Regions from separate parts of the Homo sapiens genome. Here region 1 is linked to region 2. The links are contacts of gene promoters, found by promoter capture Hi-C in human tissues and cell types (Jung and others, 2019). All regions are on one chromosome and are shown on one strand. The core of a region is centred on a gene start or on the middle of the fragment in contact, and the rest is flanking DNA. Distances in the headings are between cores, read along the strand shown.

Evidence for each region. The method cuts DNA at HindIII sites, captures the fragments that hold promoters and counts their contacts. A contact is called where the count stands out against the background at its distance.
Region 1: a fragment that was not itself captured here is called in contact with the fragment with the promoter of GREB1L in region 2 in 1 of the 25 tissues and cell types used here (dorsolateral prefrontal cortex).

What each region holds. Positions count from the first base shown.
Region 1 is chr18:21,473,698-21,478,924 of GRCh38, reverse strand. It overlaps GREB1L (GREB1 like retinoic acid receptor coactivator), which reads right to left. Exons shown (of 33, transcript NM_001142966.3): 17 at 1,569-1,761. Among named protein-coding and RNA genes, the nearest start is that of GREB1L-AS1, 25 kb to the right of the region's middle. The HindIII fragment of the contact is 6,289 bases long and covers 1-4,931 here.
Region 2 is chr18:21,240,742-21,245,713 of GRCh38, reverse strand. GREB1L (GREB1 like retinoic acid receptor coactivator) reads right to left here and starts at 3,482. Exons shown (of 33, transcript NM_001142966.3): 1 at 3,321-3,482. GREB1L-DT (GREB1L divergent transcript) reads left to right here and starts at 2,986. Exons shown (of 3, transcript NR_183513.1): 1 at 2,986-3,104; 2 at 4,379-4,437; 3 at 4,707-4,972. The HindIII fragment of the contact is 24,686 bases long and covers 1-4,972 here.

The DNA.
Region 1 (5,227 bases), core at 538-3,037, 230 kb before region 2:
GGGTGACAGAGCGAGACTCTGCCTCAAAAAAATAATTAATTAGAAAAATAATTATTCTTTCCATTCATTCTCTTGGCAATCCATTCTTTGTCAGAGCAACCCAGCAGCTACTTGGGTAGCCCACAGGCTCCCCTTGTAGTTTGGAGGCAAAGGAACTCTGGCAGCTCTGTTATCTCACCCCTACCTCAACTGCCCAATGAATGGCTGGAGCTGGCATGGAGAAGATACCAAGAAAGCAAAAGCTCAAAGTAATCTCTAGTGATAGAACACACTGAGTTAGTTCTCATAAGGCAGTGACTGCTGAAGACAAGATTCAAGGACCTGAGCTTCCTGCTTGCAAGGAACAAACCAATGCTTGAAGACAAGAGCGCCAAGTCAGAGAACTTACCTACTTCATGACAGAATAAAATGCACTGGGTTGAAAAATAAATGTTAGTTTTATGTAAGACATTTTTGGTGTTTTTTACTTAAACATGTTTATTTTAAAATATCCAGTGTGTTCAATATTTTTAAATGAGGGATCCATTGCTTAATGGCTAATTTTTATTATTTTTATGAAACTCACATTTCTTTTCTTTGATAGTATATTTAGCATACAGTTTCAGGTCATAGAAAATATTTTTCAATATTAGAGATTGGAGTAAAAACTATAAATCCCTGGATATATCCAATGTTGAGATGGGTAGTCTCAACACATTCACTGCTACTATGGAGTTATCTAAAGTAACAGTGCCATCATCCCATTTCATACAGAAGACTGTGAAAACTGATTTAAAACAAAAACCCAGTTGCTGGAGGAGCAAGAGAGTAATTAACAGTGATGCAGATCATCAGACTAAAACATGACAAAAAGGCCATCCAAGAGGACAATAAAATGTCCAGGTCTCAGGGTGAAATTAATCATATGAAGGCACAAAGGAAATCCAGGATATTGATGATGGCCTCAGATAACATCAACATTTTCTTTTTGAAAAATTATATACGACAGATAATTTTGTATCTGCATGATACCTAAGAACCACCTAATCAAATTTATATAGGATATTATTCACAAGCCTTTAGTCTTATAATAATTGTTAAAATATATGGAACTTTTGGAAGATACAGAATTATGTTAGTTTTTTGTTTTTTTTTTTTTTGAGACGGAGTCTCGCTCTGTCCCCCAGGCTGGAGTGCAGTGGCACAATCTCCGCTCACTGCAACCTCCGCCTCCCGGGTTTAAGTGATTCTCCTGCCTCAGCCTCCTGAATAGCTGGGATTACAGGCGTGTGCCAGCACACCCGGCTAATTTTTTGTATTTTTAGTAGAGACGGGGTTTCACCGTGTTAGCCAGGATGGTCTCGATCTCCTGACCTTGTGATCCACCCGCCTCGGCCTCCCAAAGTGCTGGAATTATAGGTGTGAGCCACCGCACCCAGCCAGATTTTTGAACTCTTACATAAAGCATTACGTTAGATTTTGAATTCTTATGAATATGGTCTTAAGCCATGACACATTTTGTTACAAGGTCCTACCCTCTTGGGAACTGAGAACATGACAGTGTATCAGACAGCAGGCAAGAGACTCACCCCAGTATCCAGCTGTATCCAGTGAACCTCATTGCTAGAGCTAATGCGGGACTGTTGGGTCTGCAGAGTGTATGGGAAGGAGCTGACCTGGAGCACCAGGAGGTTGAAAGCTTCCAGAACTTCTCTGCAATTAATGACTCTATCAGCTAGCCCATGACTGGGTTCGCTATGTGACAAAGAGCCTGAAATGACACTGTAGAAAAATTGAAAGTCATATTAATACCTCATTTAACCAAGTAGATATAGAATCAGACACTAACATGGACATACTGTTTTAGTTTTTATTTTTCTATCTCTTTTCAATTGGGAGCAGAGAAGAAACAACTAAAATTTGACACGGAAAGGAAAAAAAATTTACATTCCTTCTTTTCAGACAGATTTCAGGAATATGTATTTTTTTTCCTTTTCACTTTATTCCCAATATACCTCAAAGTGCAAACTCAGTCATTTAGGCCAGTGATATCTAAATCTGCAGTTGGGCCAGGCATGGTGGCTCACGTCTGTAATCCCAGCACTTTGGGAGGCCAAGGCAGATGGACCACCTGAGGTCAGGAGTTCAAGACCAGCCTGGCCAACATGGTGAAACCCCGTCTCTATTAAAAAAAAAAAATACAAAAAAAATTAGCTGGGTGTGGCGGTGTGTGCCTGTAATCCTAGCTACTCGGGAGGCTAAGGCAGGAGAATTGCTTGAACCAGGAGGAGGAGGTGGCGGTGAGCAGAAATCACGCCACTGTGCTCCAGCCTGGGCAACACAGCTAGACTGTTTAAAAAAAAAACAAAACCCCAAAACAACAACAACAAAAAATTAAATTCAGAGAAGTCCCAACATGTATCCTCAGAAATATCACCCAAAACTTTCAAAGATGAGGTGTACAGGGTCAATGAGCTATTCCTGCTCATAGAAGACTACCAAGACCTAAACAGATGTGGGCAAAATTTCTTTTCCCGCTCTCTCTCTCTCTCCCTCCCTTCCTTTCTTCAAAATCTAACAAGTTCTACAAGATCTTATTTATACCTATGTATGGCTCTAGGTTTCAGATTGTGGAGTATTATCAAACACTTTCTGGCTTCTGAAAAAGAGCTTTGCAATTCTGACATTTCCCTACCACAAACCAAAAACTTCCAGATTCCTAACCTCAGCATCTCCTGGAGAAAAGAACATCTACAAATGCTTGATGATGTCTGAAATTTCTCTCCCCACTACATGGTGAGGACAAACCATGATATGTAATACACGATGACTATTTGCCACCCCCGACCCCTGCTGATTTGCTTTTTGATCCATAGGAGCAAAGATGCCCCCTACCAGATAATTACTAGAATTTGATCTGGGAGCAAATATGGATCCATATTTGACTCTTTTTTTTTTTTTTTTTTTTTTTTTTTGAGACGGAGTCTCTCTCTGTGTCACCCAGGCTGGAGTGCAGTGGCATAATCTCCGCTCACTGCAACCTCTGCCTCCTGGGTTCAAGTGATTCTCCTGCTTCAGCCTCCCTAGTAGCTGGGATTACAGGCATGTGCCACCACGCCCAGCTAATTTTTTTGTATTTTTGGTAGAGATGGGGTTTCACCATGTTGGCCAGGCTGGTCTTGAACTCTTGTCCCCAAGTAATCCACCCACCTTGGCTTCTCAAAGTGCTGGGATTATAGGTGTGAGCCACCGCACCCTGCCAACTTTTCTTTCATTAATAAGTTCATCCAGGCCAGGCATGGTGGCTCACGCCTGTAATCCCAGCACTTTGGGAGTCCAAGGTGGGTGGATCACGAGGTCAGGAGTTCAAGGCTGGCCTGGCCAAGATGTTGAAACCCCATCTCTACTAAAAATACAAAAATTAGCCAGACGTGTGGCGGGCGTCTGTAATCCCAGCTACTCAGGAGGCTGAGGCACAGAATTGCTTGAACCCGGAAGGCGGGGGTTGCAGTGAGCCGAGATCGCATCACTGCACTCCAGCCTGGGTGACAGAGTGAGACTCTATCTCAAAAATAATAATAAGTTCATCCAGTAAATATGATACTCTCTTGTTTAAACTGGGAAACTGGGGAAGCTTTCAGGTCATCAAAGTGGCATCTCTACTGCTTTTAAAGGCAAGAGGGGAGAAGGGCAAGGAAGAGGAGAAATAGTGAGAGAGGAAGGAAAAGAAGCAAGGCCAAATGGAAAAGTGGGGTGGAGGCAGAGAGGGAAGCACATCTCCCTTCCAGGAGCTCATTCATCTTAACCTCCTTATTGCTGTCCTTTCTCTAATGAAGCTGAGTTCCACAAAGCTCTTAAAACAAAATTTTTTCAGGAATCTCTAAATTCATCCAGAGTGCAGTGATATGGTTTGGCTCTGTTTCCCCACCCAAATCTTATCTTGTAGCTCCCATAATTCCCATGTGTTGTGGGAGGGACCCGGTGGGAGATGATTGAATTATGGGGATGGGTCTTTCCCATGCTGGTCTTGTGATAAAGAAAGTCTCATGAGATCTGATAGTATCATAAGGGGGAGTTTCTGGCTGGAGAAATTTGCATAAGTAACAAGGAGCGGAATCTTAATCCCCAAGACAATGGGGGAAAATGTCTCCAGGGCATGTCAGAGGTCTTCATGGCAGCCCCTCCCATCCACAGACCTAGAGGCCTAGGAGGAAAAAGTATTTTTGTGGGCCAGGAGGGAAAAGTGGCTTTTTGGGGTGGGCCCTGTGCTGTGTGCAGCCTAGGGACTTGGAGCCCCACATCCTAGCTGCTCCAGCCATGACTAAAGGGGCCAATGTACAGCTTGGGCTGTTGCTTCAGAGGGTGGAAGCAGCTTCCACATGGTGTTGAGCCTGTGGGTACACAGAAGTCAACAACTGAGGTTTGGGAGCCTCTGCCTAGATTTCAGATGTATGGAAATGCCTGTATGCCCAGGCAAAAGTTTGCTGCAGGGGTGGGGCCCTCATGGAGAACCTCTGCTAGGGCAGTGTGGAAGGGAAATGTGGGGTCAGACCCACCACACTGAGTTCCTACTGGTGCCAGTAGCCTCTTTGTTTTAGCCAATTTCTCCCATTTGTAATGGCTGTATTTATCCAATGCCTGTACCCCCATTCTATCTAGGAAGTAACTAACTTGCTTTTGATTTTACAGGCTCCTAGGCAGAAGGGACTTGCCTTGTCTCAGATGAGACTTTGGACTTGGATTTTTGGGTTAATGCTGAAAAGAGTTGAGACTTTGGGAGACTGTTGGGAAGGCATAATTGGTTTTGAAATGTGAAGATATGAGATTTGGGAGGGGCCAGGGGCAGAAAGATATGGTTTGGCTCTGTATCCCCACCCAAATCTCATCTTGTAGCTCCCATAATTCCCACGTGTTGTGGGAGGGACCCAGTGGGAGATGACTGAATTATGGAGGCGGGTCTTTCCCGTGTTGTTCTTGTGACAGTAAGTCTCACGAGATCTGATGATATTATCAGAGGTTTCTGCTTTTACATCTTCCTCATTCTCTCTTTGCCTGCCGCCATCCATGTAAGATGTGACTTGCTCCTCCCTGCCTTATGCCATGATTGTGAGGCTTCCCCAGCTACGAGGAGCTGTGAGTCCAATGAAACCTCTTTTGTAAATTTTCCCAGTCTCGGGTATGTCCTTATTAGCACCATGAAAATGGACTAATATATGTAGTTAACATAAAACCAACATGAAATCGATGA
Region 2 (4,972 bases), core at 2,233-4,732:
ACAAAACAAAACAAAAAAAGAATAGGCATTACATTTTTTATGCTGCAAAATCAAAAACAGGAAGGCTTAAGTTAATAATGAACATCCATTGCATAAACTTTTATAAAATTATTGTAAATAATGGGAAGTAAGCTATAGAAAAAATGTTTATAAAAAACAGGGTGAAAATTATCTGCAATATAAAACATTTGTAAAAATATTCATTCATATGGCAAGATTGGGAAGGGAGCTGGAAAAAATAAAAACCATTACCATTTTGAAGAATTTCACTACTGGTATTGAATTTTCTTTTGTTTCTGTCAGCTTCATTAATCAATCAATATTACTCTAAGTACCCTTACAAATATATTCTTCTAGTTCTTATTCTTAGGATCCCAAACAATTCCTACAGCGAATTTATAATTTATATTAGACTTATTCAAAATAATTACATATGTTTCATCAGCGGTGCTTTTAGAAAGCTTTAGCTTTCAGTATGAGATCTCTATCTTAACATCAACACTTTTTGCAATCATCGCTTACAGTGTACCTTTGAAATCCCTTAATTTAGACCATACGCAGTCACTAAAATCAGCTAATTTTTACTTTCACAACCTTACAATCACTCCTTAACTCCTGTCCCCATCATTAGCCCAAAGGCTGCAGGTACTTTACAAATTAGAAGTTTCCTAATAAGAACATACTCCCTAGGTGAATATTTATCAAGTAACTAAAATATCTTAGCTATAAGGGATGTTCATAATCTAAACACTTCAGAGAAGTATAAATTAAATTATGTCAAGTCTCTTTCAAGTAGGTAAAGTTAATTTCCACTTTACCAAAAAGAAGAGTTTGGTAAGAGTAATTTTCCTAAAAATGACACTGTGGGCTGCGAGGAGAATTCACTCTCCTTAGCCACACAAGGTGACATGAGAGGCCCTCAGCCCGGTGTTTGGCCTCTATCAGCAACATAAACACACATTCTGTGGGTAAGGAGAGTAGCTGTTCTCCAATGACATCAAACTCGTAAGAGCAGGGATATAGTTTAAACATCTCTAACCTCCTCTTCATGAATCCACCATTCAGGAATGTTTTTTGTCGCCCCACTGTCTAACATCCACAGTCCAATGGTTATCTTTAGCCAGTTTTAGGACAACTATTTTAATCGTAGAACTCTGGAGTTCGAAGGACCCTTAAAAATCACATAGTTCAATTCCTTTATCTAACTGAGTGGGAAACAAAGTTTTCCAAAAAAAAGTTACGTCGTGTGGCGGGTTTGTGGCAAATCCAGGCCTAGAATTAAGAGATGCAACCAAACATCTGAAACTCGGCCTTCGTATTTATCCTTTACCACTAACATCTTTATATTATGTCATGTCAATGGGAGTATACACACGCCCTTTCAGTGTTTTCAGATACACACTGCGGTAGACAAAGTAAACTACTACAGTTCTCATTCTCTACTTCATAAAGAATTCCAAAATGGAGGAAAAATTCAATAAAGATTGCAAAAACCAGTGTAGGGAAACTGGTGTGTGTGCAGGAGGAGATATTAGTTTAATAGTTTTGCTTTCCACTGCATACTGTTCTAAGATTTTTAGCCCTCTAACTGATCTTCAAGGTAATAATTGTCCACATTTGGCTAAATAATCTCATGTCATCATGAGTGGGTATCAAGTTAATGGTCATCACCACGAATATATAGTTCAGTCTTATATTCAATCCCTTTCATCATCTATAATGTAATTCCATTTTAATAGACTTACGGAAAGATATACAAAAAATATACAACAGTGGCTGCCTCTGAGAAGGATGAAGGCTTGTATGGAGGAGAGGAAAGAGGGCTTAATTTACACTGTATACTCTTCACTGTTGTTTGAAATGTTTACCCTACTTATATATTCATTCATTAAACATTTTCCTCTTGAAATACATACCTATATGCATGTAACTGTATTACTAAATATTTCAACAATTTAATTTTTTCTCTTTTAAATAATTTTTCAGTATCATTCACAAAACCTCCTAGAAAATTTCAGCAAAGAGAAGAAACAACACAGTCACAACACTCAAAGCAGAGTTCCAGGATTTAAAGTCTAAGAACATATATAGATGAATGAGAGGTTTTATTAAGGGGGACTGAGTTCAAAAACCTTTTGTGGGAAAGCTCTTCCCTGTATTTAAACGGCTAGGTTTAAAAATGTGATTTAAGCAGGGATTCCCGCCTCGAGGCGGGGGGAGGCGGAAAAAAACACCTTACGGTGTGAAAAGCAGAAATTAAAATGTGGTTTCTATCCTCTCAGCCGGGGCCAGAGGAGTGGGTGGGGAGGATAAGGACCTTGGAACCGTCACGTTCACCGGAGAAAGGGGCAAGACTGAGGAGTTTCTCCAGGACCCGCAGCCTCGGTTAGAGGCAGCGGCAGTTCCGGGCAAACGAGTCGCGTTCGGGGACGTTCCTTGGACTCATGTAACTGAGAAACCCCACGCACTGAATCTCCACATGGAGTTTCCTCTTAATGGAGCTGGGAAGAGGGACGGCGGGAATGGATTTCCTTTAACGAGTCTCCCTCACCCTCCCCGGCCAGGGCGCACCTCACTCGCTGTCTGCTTGTGTCAGGGTCAGCTGTCAACACAACTCTTTGTGTCTCATTCGGAATAAGAGTGGTCCTCAGCCATGCACAGAAAAATGGACATGCTGGCCGGAAGACACGCGCGCCCGCTCGTGACGAAGTGACATTTGGTGTTGAGGAAAAAAACCCACAGACGCCGAGCGAGCGCCCAGCCACCTCTGGACGTTCTCAACTTTCCCAGGCTGAACTCCATCCATCCTCTCCCCGCCACCTCCGCGGCGCCCTACCTGTCGCCCGCCCGCCTGCCCGGCACCCCCTCACTGCCCCTGGGCTCGGGGAGACGAACCAGGTGCCCCCTCGCCGCCTCCGCCGGGGGACCCCGCGCTACTCGGCGCGCCGCAGCTCCCTCGTCCCACCCCCGGGCCGTCTCGCTCCCGCCACAAAGGCAGCGAGTAGAGCCCGGTGACAGGCCTTCGGCCTCTGGGCGCGGACAGCACGGCCGGGTCCCTTCGGTGGGCGACGCGAGGCGGCAGGGAAGGCAGGCACGGCTCCCAGGTTGGCACTGGCGCTCCCTCGCCACCCGCACGCGCTCCGCTCACACCCCCGCTGAGCTTCCCATCCCTCCGGAAAAGTCCGCTGCGGCGCTTCCCCGCGCGGCCAGGGCGTCCAGCCCGCCAAAGGGCAGCTCCTGCCGGTCACAGGCGAGCTCCCGCGCCCGGTTCGCGACCTCTCACCTCCTGCCCGCGCCCCGGAGTCCCCGCGGCCGCTCACCTGGCCCTAGCGGGGCGCGAGGGCAGAGGACCAGGGGGTGGCCCTCGGCTCGGCCGGGCTGGTCTCCCCACCCCCAGTGCCGTTCCCTGCGCCGCGCTGCGCTCCGCTGCTCCGGCCGCCCGACTCCGAGGTGCTAGCGCCGCCGGCGGCTGGCGTCTCTCTGGCAGGCGCGCGGTCCGCGCGCTCAGTTCCCCGGGGCGGAGCGAGGCGGCGGCCGCCGCAGCCGGAGGCGGATTCCTCAGGTGCTGCCCCTCCCGCCCGCCCTGGCCTCCGCAGCGGGGACCCCCGCGCCCCCTCCCCCCGCCCCGCCTCGCGCCTTCCCGCTGCCTCGGCGTCCGCGAGTGGCTTTTGGGGGTCCCTCGCCCTCTGTGAGGGTGGTGGGCGCGCATTTCTCCCCTACCCCCCTCCAACGACGCCCCCCGCCCAGCCTGTGGAGCCCTCGATGCGCGGTCCTCACGCCTCCATTCCCAAACCCCGCCGCACAGACGAACGCGCAGCCCCGCGGGGGTGTACAGGGGGTCGTGCGGGGGGGGGGTCTTCTGTGAGGGAGGGCTGCACCCCAGTGTGCTGACGCGCGAAGCCAGGAGGAAAAATTATTTCCCCTGGAGCCCGCGTTCATTCAGCCTGCTCTCGCCTCTGCGCAATTGCTTTCTCTGTTCACTGGACGGCGGCTGAAGAGCCCCAAGCGTGAACTCGGCCTGGGCAGTGGTGGCTCGGAAACCCTTGGCCTTTTGCATGAAGGGGGTAGGGTGGGGGCAGGGCGCGGACAAAACCAAACAAACCCGGGAGCTCCGGGCCCAAGCCGACTTTTGCACCTCCCGGAGGAGCACGCCCTCCGGCCCCGGGCCCCGGCTCGTCGGTAGCCTCCCGGGACCACGGGGACGGCTCCACCCCAGGGCAGCCGCGTCCAGCTGGCCCTGGGCCTTGACGGGTGCTGCGGGGAAAAGGTTCTTGAGAGATGCTGCGGCCCGGTAGAGAGATTTAGCTCCACTTTTCACAGCTGGAGGCTTTTGTTATTAGAGATGCGGCTCCATTTTTAAAACTAATTGTTGCCACAGATAGGCGACTACATCTCTGGAAGCAGCAGCTCCATGCTGGATGTGGTGGAAGAATCGAGGTAAGGAAAGGCTGATGTATTTTGAGTGCCTTTAGTGCAGTACAGCCCGGGGGAGCTCCCCGTGTGCGTGGGAGTGGGGAGGCAGCCGCGGCGCCCAGGCCCGGGTGGGTTGGAATCATTGTCAAGTGATAGGTACCATTTAAAGACATTGTCAATTAAACTAGTTCTCATACGATGTCCCAGTACTTTTGTTTGCTTGTCTTGCATTTTTCTTTTTTGCCATATCCGAAATACATTTTTTTCTTTCCTGTCACTTTTGATCCATGCAGAGGGAATGGACTGGAAGTTTGGAATCACCGGAAAATAACAAGGCATAGCTAAGCTGTGACTAGCAAGATAAACGATTTGTTCGAGGTTTGATTGTCCTTTCCCTCCTCCACTCGGAAGACATAGTTGTCTTTTTTTAAATCATGTTTTGTACCGAAATATTTTTATTTTATAATTGAATCCCTGTTGTTGGGCCTTTAAAAACCCATAGAAACATTGTTATGTGCCACGAAGGTGGGAAACACGGCTTTCTCAGTCATTGCTGTAC